Regions from separate parts of the Homo sapiens genome. Here region 2 is linked to region 1. Evidence: promoter capture Hi-C in 16 types of primary human blood cells and fetal thymus (Javierre and others, 2016). All regions are on one chromosome and are shown on one strand. The core of a region is centred on a gene start or on the middle of the fragment in contact, and the rest is flanking DNA. Distances in the headings are between cores, read along the strand shown. Region 1 holds the start of HTRA3 (HtrA serine peptidase 3). Region 2 overlaps ACOX3 (acyl-CoA oxidase 3, pristanoyl).

What was found. Contacts are between HindIII fragments. The CHiCAGO score rates a contact against its expected background, and 5 or more counts as called.
Region 2: a contact is called between a fragment that was not itself captured here and the fragment with the promoter of HTRA3 in region 1, in 1 of 17 cell types (M0 macrophages). The highest score is 6.4, in M0 macrophages.

Annotation. Positions count from the first base shown.
Region 1 is chr4:8,267,213-8,272,231 of GRCh38, forward strand. It overlaps HTRA3 (HtrA serine peptidase 3), which reads left to right and starts at 2,542. Exons shown (of 9, transcript NM_053044.5): 1 at 2,542-3,141. The coding sequence starts at 2,757. LOC105374373 (a long non-coding RNA gene) reads right to left here and starts at 2,969. Exons shown (of 2, transcript XR_001741572.2): 1 at 2,895-2,969; 2 at 1,394-2,184. RefSeq lists a silencer at 78-227. The HindIII fragment of the contact is 2,501 bases long and covers 671-3,171 here.
Region 2 is chr4:8,422,246-8,427,734 of GRCh38, forward strand. The region is part of intron 1 of ACOX3 (acyl-CoA oxidase 3, pristanoyl); the gene reads right to left. Among named protein-coding and RNA genes, the nearest start is that of ACOX3, 16 kb to the right of the region's middle. The HindIII fragment of the contact is 4,246 bases long and covers 2,100-5,489 here.

The sequences.
Region 1 (5,019 bases), core at 1,292-3,791:
CCAGAGACTTAGAGGAACCTCCCGGGTGGATCCCAGGCCCTTGGGGAATCCTCTCCTACTCCTGGCCCCTAAGTCAGGTGTTCAGGGTTGGGGATGGGAGGCCCCAAAGTTTACTGAGTGAGAGGCAGTGCAGGGCGGGAGCAGCAGGGGGCGCGGCTCTCCTGAGGACAGCGCTGGGCTCCTGCCAAGCTCAAGGCAGCCACTGTGAGCCCTGCCTGCCCATTTCAGGGAAGAGCAAAGGCCACCCCAGGGAACTGCATCCCAGCTGCAGAGCAGAGAAGGGTCTTTTCACTCCGGGCCTCAGTTTCCCTCTCTGTACAAGAGGACTAAATCCCCACTGCAAGGTGGTCAAGATGGTGACCGTTGGGGGCAGCATGGTCTCCAGGGAGGAGCAAGGACTTGACCTAAGGACAGGCCAAGATCTGAGGCCCACCTGCCAGAATCTCTGGCCTTGCACTCCCCCAGCCCTGTTCTAAGGATCCTAACGCCCACCTCTCAGGCGCTTCGTGAAGACTGAGTCAAGTGTATGCAGAGCGCTCCAGCAGCCTCAGGGCCTACACATCGGTAGCTGTGGTTCCTTGGAAGCTGTGGCAGGCTGTGCAAACTCTGACCTGCTGCAGCGCCGGTCCTGGACTCTCTCAGAGACTCAGTTTCCCCATTGTAGAGGAAAAGCTTAGGGGAAATGAGCTCTTGGGCCCTTCCCAGGGACTTAGTTTTCTGCGCACTGAAGGATCCAGGGATGGAAAAGTGTTGATCTTCAGGGCCAGGTGTCTGCAGGAAAACACAGGCCCCCCAAAAAGCCAGCTCTGGGCCACAGTAGCCCACCAAGGCTTACTCGAGGGGCAGGCATCCTGGGCACGTGAAAAATTCTCCTTGCGCCTTAGGCAAGCCCACCCTGCAGAGACATGAACCGGGAGCCCTGGCCAAGGTTGAGGGAGGTTCAGCCCAGCCCTGAGGTCCCCAACTCCTAGCATTCTGGGTCATTCCAAAAAATGGCCTGAAATTCTCCACATCTTCAAAGTAAAGTGCACTTGAGGTTTGTAGAGGCAGAAACGCAGGTGCTATTGCCCCTTGTCAAAGGGCCTTTTAGGGGGAGAAGCTCCAGGTCCCTTCTCTCCCCGTCCCCTGGGACCCTTCAACCTTTCACTCTCTCTGGGTCCTATGGGGGCTCACACTTGGCGCCCCGCCTCCTCCCACCTCATCCTCCCCAGACATCTTGTCTGATGGGGCCGCTCCCTACTCAACGCCTCCCCAGGCCTTTGAGGACCCAGGGCCCTCAGGGATCAGGCCCCTCCACCTTCCCATTCCCCGAGGCCCTTTAACCTCCAGCTCCCCCTCCCTCCTCTGGACCAGAGGTACCCCTCCCCATTCTTAACTTGGGTATCTGTGAACCTGGATGGAAAAACGTCTTTATTTACCCCAACAACTCCAACTGAAGTCCAGCATTCATTCCTTTGGGGGTGCAGTTGACCCCAGCCAGCAGGGCCTGTGGCTCCACGGCCAGCAGAAGCAGTGTTTACATCCCCATGTTACCGCCCTCACCGAAGGTGTCTCCAGTGGCAGCCCTCTGCACAGGGCTGCTGCGAAGTGTCCACTGGTATCAGACGACAGACCGACCAGAACCTGCCATTAACATGCTGATAAAGAAGCCCATAGGCCACGCTGTCATGAATTGTTTCATGTATTTTGATAACTGTGTTTTGATAGAATTGTTCCCCTTTGTGACCCCATGGTCTTTGTTTTATGCGTTTAAATCTACTTGACGACATCGTTCTGAAAAGGACACCCAGGCTTCGCCAGGCAGCCCAGGGTACTAGGAACACACACAGTGTGAAGACCGCAGCTCCAGGCTGTGCGCGCGGCGTTATCTCCTGCTGCCCCGACCTGCTTTTGCTTGGGAGCCTCTGCCCAGGTCACGGCCAGCTCCCGCTTCCCATCCTTCCTCTTCAGGCTTGACATTCACCTCCAAGGGGGGTTCTGCCTTCTCTCACAACTCCGCAGCCTTCACCCCATCAGCTGACGCACTGTCACCAGATTCTGACTCTCGTGATGGGACCTGGGTCTGAAGGGGCCCTGCAGAAAATGCAGGAGCAATGATGAGAATGGAAACAGCTTCCGGTTCCGTGGACAGCGAGGACTCGGGAACACTGCTCAGCCATGGCCTCTGTGGTTCTTCCAACGACCCTATGAGGTTGAGAAATGCTGTCAATTCCCCTTTCCTGGAGGAGGAAACTGAGGCACAGAGGAGACTGGACACGGACAGACCCCTCCAGAGCGGGGAGAACGCATCCCCCAACGTTTCTGGGATAGGCTGGGCCCGGGGGTCCCCACCAGAAAGGACCCCTGCGTGTCTGTAGCCTCGGGTTTTCTCGACCAGGCCGACCAGAGTCCCAAGGCCTGCCGGGTGGGTCCAGGCCCGGAAGGCCAGGCGGGGCCCTGTCGGGGCCTGGGCGGGGCTGGCGGAGGGGCCGGGCCGCCCCTTCCAGCGAGGGCGGGCTGGGCGGTCGCCTTTAAAGGCGCGGGACCCGCCGCCCGCGGACCGTCAGGCTGGAGGGAGCTGGTCCCTGCGCTCCCTGCGCCCTGGGGATGCCCCTGCCGCCCTGACGCCCGCCAGCCTGAGCCACCGGCGCATGTGACCGCGCGTCCGCCCCAGTCCCATCCGTAGGCGCCCGGCGCCCGGCCCCGCAGCGGCCTCGTTGTCCCCGCCGGCCCCCGCCCGGTCTCCCGCGCTGCCACCCGCCGCCGGCCCTGCCGCCATGCAGGCGCGAGCGCTGCTCCTGGCCGCGTTGGCCGCGCTGGCGCTGGCCCGGGAGCCCCCTGCGGCGCCGTGTCCCGCGCGCTGCGACGTGTCGCGGTGTCCCAGCCCCCGCTGCCCCGGCGGCTACGTGCCCGACCTCTGCAACTGCTGCCTGGTGTGCGCCGCCAGCGAGGGCGAGCCCTGTGGCGGCCCTCTGGACTCGCCTTGCGGCGAGAGCCTGGAGTGCGTGCGCGGCCTATGCCGCTGCCGCTGGTCGCACGCCGTGTGTGGCACCGACGGGCACACCTATGCCAACGTGTGCGCGCTGCAGGCGGCCAGCCGCCGCGCGCTGCAGCTCTCCGGGACGCCCGTGCGCCAGCTGCAGAAGGGCGCCTGCCCGTTGGGTAAGCGCTCGGGGGCCAGGGAGGAAGTGAAGCTTCTTTCTCTTGGGGAAACTAAGGCCGGGAGTTAGGGCCGAGCTCGAGGTCGCCCTTCCCTGGGCACCACCGGGTGGCCCTTCAGAAATCATCCCACCAGCCCTCTGGTCTTTCAGATGAAGAAACTGAGGCCCGGAAAGGTAAACCGCTGTCCCCAAGGTCACAGAATTAGAGTCAAAAGGGAAACCCGGTGGTCTCCTGGCCACCCGAGGGGCCTCATCTAGGACTGTTTCCAGCTCTGGTCTCTTCAGAACTGATGTCTCGTGCCCATTCCCTTGATCCTTGGACCCCTGCTCTGTCCGGGTATTGAGTGAAGGGCACTCTTTCCTGCCCTAACTCTCCAGCCGGGGTGCCCTCTTGGGTGATGCCTTCTTTCCTGGAGACTGTGGTTAAGTGCATGTCTCCACAGGACTGTGTGGGAAGGGTCAGGGTGCAGGTCCCTGAACTGCTTAGGGCGCCCCAGGGAGAGGCTGCTTGGGGGAGAGAATGTCGGGGTCAGACCCTAGAACAGCCTCCCTTGAGGCAGTCGGCTCTAGGTTGCATCTCACCGTGCAGGTTGACTCTGTACGTGGAGGAAAATGCTGGAAAACCTGCTGTACCTTTTTCCCTGTTTGGGGTGCCTCTTAGGAAAGCAGACTCTGCTGTGGCCGGACAGGGGTTCACTGAAGACAGGCGACGGGCCCCAGGTTCATGGATAGGAGTCAGGGTCCTGCGTGCCATCAGCTTGCAGGTGGCAGGGAGAGATGCAGTAGCTGCCAGAACAGGCTCCGTGGAGCCTCAGGAGCACCATGGGGAGCACCAACTGCCGGGGCTCCTGGGAAGCCTGCAGAGGGCTTCCTCATTTTTTCTGCGGTCCGCTGAACACAATTCCAAGTGTTTTCATGGTGTAAAAAGGTTGGGGAACTGAGCGCTCTATTCCTGTAGTGGAGACTCACAGGCTCAATCTATCAGAGGTTCTGAGAAAACCTGCAGTGTCCTCAATTGATGAAACCCAGGGCTTCCCCAGAGAATTTCAACAGAGAGCTCTTCTTTTCTGGCAGAACACGTGACCTCCTCCCAGCACGCTGGGGTTCCTGGGAGCCCCGTGTGGGAAGCATCATTCGAGATTAGCTAGGATTATGTGGAAGAGCCACCGCAGGGTTTGGCGGGGAGTCCCAGTCCACCTTGTGCTGGTACAACGCCTGAGACTGGGCAGTTTATACAGGACAGAGATGTATTTCTCGCAGCTCTGGAGGCTGGAAAGTTCAAGACCAAGGTGCCAGCAGGCTTGGTTGTCTGGTGAGGGCTGCACTCTGCGGAAGGGAGGAAGCTGCGTCTTCACACGGCAGAAGTGCAGGCAGGGACAAGGCCGAACGCTGCCTGTAGCCTCTCTCATAAGGAGCTTCTGCCCACGCTCGAAAGGAGGAACCCTTGTGACCTCATCACCTCCTAACACCCCACCTTTTCATACCATCACATTGGCAACACCTCTGTTTTGGAGGGAACATGTTCAAACCATCATGGGGGTGAGGGTGATGAGGTCCGGCTTGTGTTGAGACTGCCCAGGAGGCTGAGGGGTGCGAGTGTGGGGCTGCGGGGTCTTGGAGACGTTGTCATTGACTCAACGCCTGCTGCACTGTCACAGTGGCACATCAGTTTGGGGCTTGGTGCTGGGGTACCTTTCCTGGGCCTGCCCGTTGCAGCCCAGCTGTGTGCATGGGGGCCACCTCCCCACCCCGCTCCCCACCGTGGAAGGCACTATGAGAATAGGGCTGCAGGGCTCAGGGCTGGCAGGGAGCTGGAGGCAGCCTGGGTGTTCTGAGACACTCACTGACTTCTGGAGTTCGCGTCATGAGGCACTTTCTC
Region 2 (5,489 bases), core at 2,973-5,472, 160 kb after region 1:
GAAAGAGAGAGATATATAAGTAGTTAAGAAAAAAACAGTGTACCCTATTCCTTTAAAAGCCAGGGTAAATTTAAAACCTATAATTGATAATTGAAGGTCTTCTCTATGACCCTATAACACTCCAATACCACTTTGTTGTCAGTTAAACAGTGTAATGCAAACATTAGGAAAAAAACTTCAAAAGTCCACCTTAGGCCCAGAGCAAAACATAGAAACTCTAATGAACTTGGCAACCTCGGTTTTTTTCACAATAGAGATCAGGAGGAGCAGGCAGAACAGGACAAACGGGCCCTCAGGCAAGCAGAAGTTCACTTCTTGCCCCCATTTGCCACTATAGGAATATGCACCTCCCTTTAATTTACTCAATTCGCTTTCATCCTGATCTATTGTGTTGTTGTAGGCATAGCTCCAGTTGTTAAAGTACTGGGTCATCAGTTCTAAGGCCCTGGCCAAGGAGCCAAGGCTTGGAGATTGTATCGCAGCAGGGGAGGTAAGCTGGGTAGAAATTGGGGGAGGAGAGCATCTTACTTTGGAGGCTCTGGAAAAGGGAAACGCTGGGCAAATCAAATGCCTGATAGGGCTTGCTTCCAGTGTGGTCTACAAGGACACTTTAAAAAAGATTGTCTGAATAGAAATAAGCTGCCCCTCATCCATGCCCCTCATGTCAAGGGAATCACTGGAAGGCCCACTGCCCCAGGGGATGAAGGTCCTTTCAGTCAGAAGCCACTAACCAGATAAGCCAGCAGCAGGACTGAGGGTGCCCGGGGCAAGCGCCAGCCCATGCCCCAGGTATGCTTGACCATTGGGGGCCAGAAGGTTAACTGTCTCCTGAACACTGGCATGGCCTTCTCAGTCTTAGTCTCTGGTCCTGGACAACCGTCCTCCAGATCTGTCACTACCCGAGGGGTCCTAGGATAGGCAGTCACTAGATACTTCTCCCAGCCACTAAGTTGTGACTGGGGAACTTCATTCTTTTCACTTGCCTTTCTAATTATGCCTGAAACCCCCACACCCTTGTTAGGGAGATACATTCTAGCAAAAGCAGGGGCCATTATACACCTGAACATGGGAGAAGGAACACCGTTTGCTGTCCCCTACTTGAGGAAGGAATTAATCCTGAAGTCTGGGCAACAGAAGGACAATATGGATGAGGGAAGAATGCCCGTCCCGTTCAAGTTAAACTAAAGGATTCCGCCTCCTTTCCCCACCAAAGGCAGTACCCTCTTAGACCCGAGGCCCAACAAGGACTCCAAAAGATTGTTAAGGACCTAAAAGCCCAAGGCCTAGTAAAACCATGCAATAGCCCCTGCAATACTCCAATTTTAGGAGTACAGAAACCCAATGGACAGTGGAGGTTAGTGCAAGATCTCAGGATTATCAATGAGGCTGTTGTTCCTCTATACCCAGCTGTACCTAATCTTATACTCACTCTGCTTTCCCAAATACCAGAGGAAGCAGAGTGGTTTACAGTCCTGGACCTTAAGGATGCCTTTTACTGCATCCCTGTACATCCTGACTCTCAATTCTTGCTTGCCTTTGAAGATCCTTTGAATCTAATGTCTCAACACACCTGGACTGTTTTACCCCAAGGGTTCATGGACAGCCCCCATCTATTTGGCCAGGCATTAGCCCGAGACTTGAGCCAGTTCTCATACTTGGGCACTCTTGTCCTTCGGTATGCGGATGATTTACTTTTAGCCACCCATTCAGAAACCTTGTGCCATCAAGCCACCCAAGTGCTCTTAAACTTCATGGCCACCTGTGGCTACAAGGTTTCCAGACCAAAGGCTCAGCTCTGCTCACAGCAGGTTAAATACTTAGGGCTAAAATTATCCAGACACACCAGGGCCCTCAGTGAGGAATGCATCCAGCCTATACTGGCTTATCCTTATCCCAAAACCATAAAGCAATTAAGAGGGTTCCTTGGCATAACAGGCTTCTGCCGAATATGGATTCCCAGGTACAGTGAAATAGCCAGGCCATTATACACACTAATTAAGGAAACTCAGAAAGTGAATACCCATTTAGTAAGAAGGACACCTGAAGCAGAAGTGGCTTTCCAGGCCCTAAAGAAGGCCCTAATCCAAGCCCTAGTGTTAAGCTTGCCAAAGGGGCAAGACTTTTCTTTATGTGTCACAGAAAAAACAGGAATAGCTCTAGGATTCCTTACACAGGTCCGAGGGACCAGGTTGCAACCCATGGCATACCTGAGTAAGGAAACTGATGTAGTGGCAAAGGGTTGGCCTCATTGTTTATGGGTAATGGCAGCAGTAGCAGTCTTAGTATCTGAAGCAGTTAAAATGATACAGGGAAGAGATCTTACTGTGTGGATGTCTCATGATGTGGACGGCATACTCACTGCTAAAGGAGACTTACGGCTGTCAGACAACCGTTTGCTTAAATATCAGGCTCTATTACTTGAAGGGCCAGTGCTGCGACTGCGCACTCGTGCAACTCTTAATCCAGCCACATTTCTTCCAGACAATGAAGAAAAGATAAAACATAACTGTCAACAGGTGATTGCTCAAACCTACGCCGCTCGAGGGGACCTTCTAGAGGTTTCCTTGACTGATCCCGACCTCAACTTGTATACTGACGGAAGTTCCTTTGTAGAAAAACGACTTCGAAAAGCAGGGTATGCAGTGGTCAGTGATAATGGAATACTTGAAAGTAATCCCCTCACTCCAGGAACTAGCGCTCAGCTGGCAGAACTAATAGCCCTCACTCAGGCACTAAAATTAGGAGAAGGAAAAAGGGTAAATATATACACAGACTCTAAGAATGCTTACCTAGTCCTCCATGCCCATGCAGCAATATGGAGAGAAAGGGAATTCCTAACTTCCGAGGGAACACCTATCAAATCTCAGGAAGCCATTAGGAGATTACAATTGGCTGTACAGAAACCTAAAGAGGTGGCAGTCTTACACTGCCGGGGTGATCAGAAAGGAAAGGAAAGAGAAATAGAAGGGAACCGCGAAGCAGATACTGAAGCCAAAAGAGCCGCAAGGTGGGACCCTCCATTAGAAATGCTTATAGAAGGACCCCTAGTATGGGGTAATCCCCTGTAGGAAACCAAGCCCCAGTACTCAAAAGAAATAGGATGGGGAACCTCACGAGGACATAGTTTCTTCCCCTCAGGATGGCTAGCCACCGAAGAAGGAAAAATACTTTTGCCTGCAGCTAACCAATTGAAATTACTTAAAACCCTTCATCAGACCTTTCACTTAGGCATTGATAGCACCTATCAGACGGCCAAATCATTATTAACTGGATCAGGACTTTTCAAAACTATCAAGCAGATAGTCAGGGCCTATGAAGTGTGGCAAAGAAATAATCCCCTGCCTTATCGCCAAGCTCCTTCAGGAGAACAAAGAACAGGCCATTACCCAGGAGAAGACTGGCAACTAGATTTTACCCACATGCCCAAATCTCAGGGATTTCAGTATCTACTAGTCTGGATAGATACTTTCACTGGTTGGGAGGAGGCCTTTCCTTGTAGGACAGAAAAGGCCGAAGACGTAATAAAGGCACTAATTCATGAAATAATTCCCAGATTCGGACTTCCCTGAGACTTACAGAGTGACAATGGCCCCGCTTTCAAGGCTGCAGTAACCCAGCGAGTATCGCAGACGTTACTTAGGCATACAATATCACTTACACTGCGCCTGGAGGCCACAATCCTCAGGGAAGGTCGAGAAAATGAACGAAACACTCAAACAACATCTAAAAAAGCTAACTCAGGAAACCCACCTCGCATGGCCTGCTCTGTTGCCCATAGCCTTATTAAGAATACAAAACTCCCCCCAAAAAGCAGGACTTAGCCCATACGAAATGCTGTATGGACAGCCCTTCCTAACCAATGACCTTGTGCTTGACCGAGAGACGGCCAATTTAGTTGCAGACATCACCTCCTTAGCCAAATATCAACAAGTTCTTAAAACATTACAGGGAACCTGTACCCGAGAGGAGGGAAAGGAATTCCACCCTGGTAACATGGTATTAGTCAAGTCCCTTCCCTCTAAGTCCCCACCCCTAGATACATACTGGGAAGGACCCTACCCAGTCATTTTATCTACCCTGAGTGCAGTTAAAGTGTCTGGAGTGGAGTCTTAGACACATCAAACCCTGGATACCGCCAAAGGAACCCAAAAATTCAGGAGACAACGCTAGCTATTCCTGTGAACCTCTAGAGGATCTGCACCTGCTCTTCAAGCGACAACTGCGAGGAAAGTAACTGGAATCGTAGAGCTCCATGGCCCCCCCCGTCATATTTTTCTCTTTACTGTTGTCTTACCCCCCTTTCACTATCACCTCACCCCCTCCATGCCGCTATACTACCAGTAGCTCCCCTTACCAAGAGCTTCTATGGAGAATGCGGCTTCCCAGAAATATTGATGCCCCATTGTATAGGAGTTTTTCTAAAGGAAACCCCACTTTCACCATCCACACCCATATGCCCCTGCACTTCGGGCCACACATTTCAATCCCTGTATCTTTAACCTCCTTGTTAAGTTTGTCTCTTCCAGAATCAAAGCTGTGAAACTACAAATGTTCTTCAAATGGAGCCCCAGATGCAGTCCATGACTAAGATCTACCGTGGACCCCTGGACTGGCCTGCTAGCCCATGCTCCGATGTTGATGACATCGAAGGCACCACTCCCGAGGAAATCTCAACTGCATGACCTCTACTACGCCCCAATTCAGCAGGAAGCAGTTACAGCGGTCATCGGCCAACCTCCCCAACAGCACTTGGGTTTTCCTGTTGAGAGGGGGTACTAAGAGACAGGACTAGCTGGACTTCCTAGGCCGACTAAGAATTCCTAAGCCTAGCTGGGGAAGGTGACCACACCCACCTTTAAACATGGGGCTTGTAACTCAGCTCACACCAGACCAATCAGGTAGTAAAGAGAGCTCACTAAAATACCAATGAGGCTAAAAACAGGTGGTAAAGAAATAATCAGATCATCTGTCGCCTGAGAGCACAGGGGGAGGGACAATGATCAGGATATAAACCCAGGCATTCAAGCCGAATCGGGCAACCCTCTTTGGGTCCCCTCCCGTTGCATGGGAGCTCTGTTTTCACGATATTAAATCTTGCAACTGCACACTTTTCTGGTCCATGTTTGTTCCGGTTTGAGCTGAGCTTTTGCTTGCCATCCACCACTGCTGATGGCTGCTGTCGCAGACGCCCCGCTGACTTCCACCCCCCTCCAGATCCAGCAGGGTGTCCACTGCGCTTCTGATCCAGCGAGGCACCGGTTGCTGCTCCCGGGCTAGAGACTCGCCATTGTTCCCGCACAGCTAAGTGCCTGGGTTCATCCTAATTGAGGTGAACACTAGTCGCTGGGTTCCACAGTTCTCTTCCGTGACCCACAGCTTCTAATAGAGCTATAACACTCACCGCATGGCCCAAGGTTCCATTCCTTGGAATCCATGAGGCCAAGAACCCCAGGTCAGAGAGCAAGAGCCTTGCTGCCATTGGGACCGGC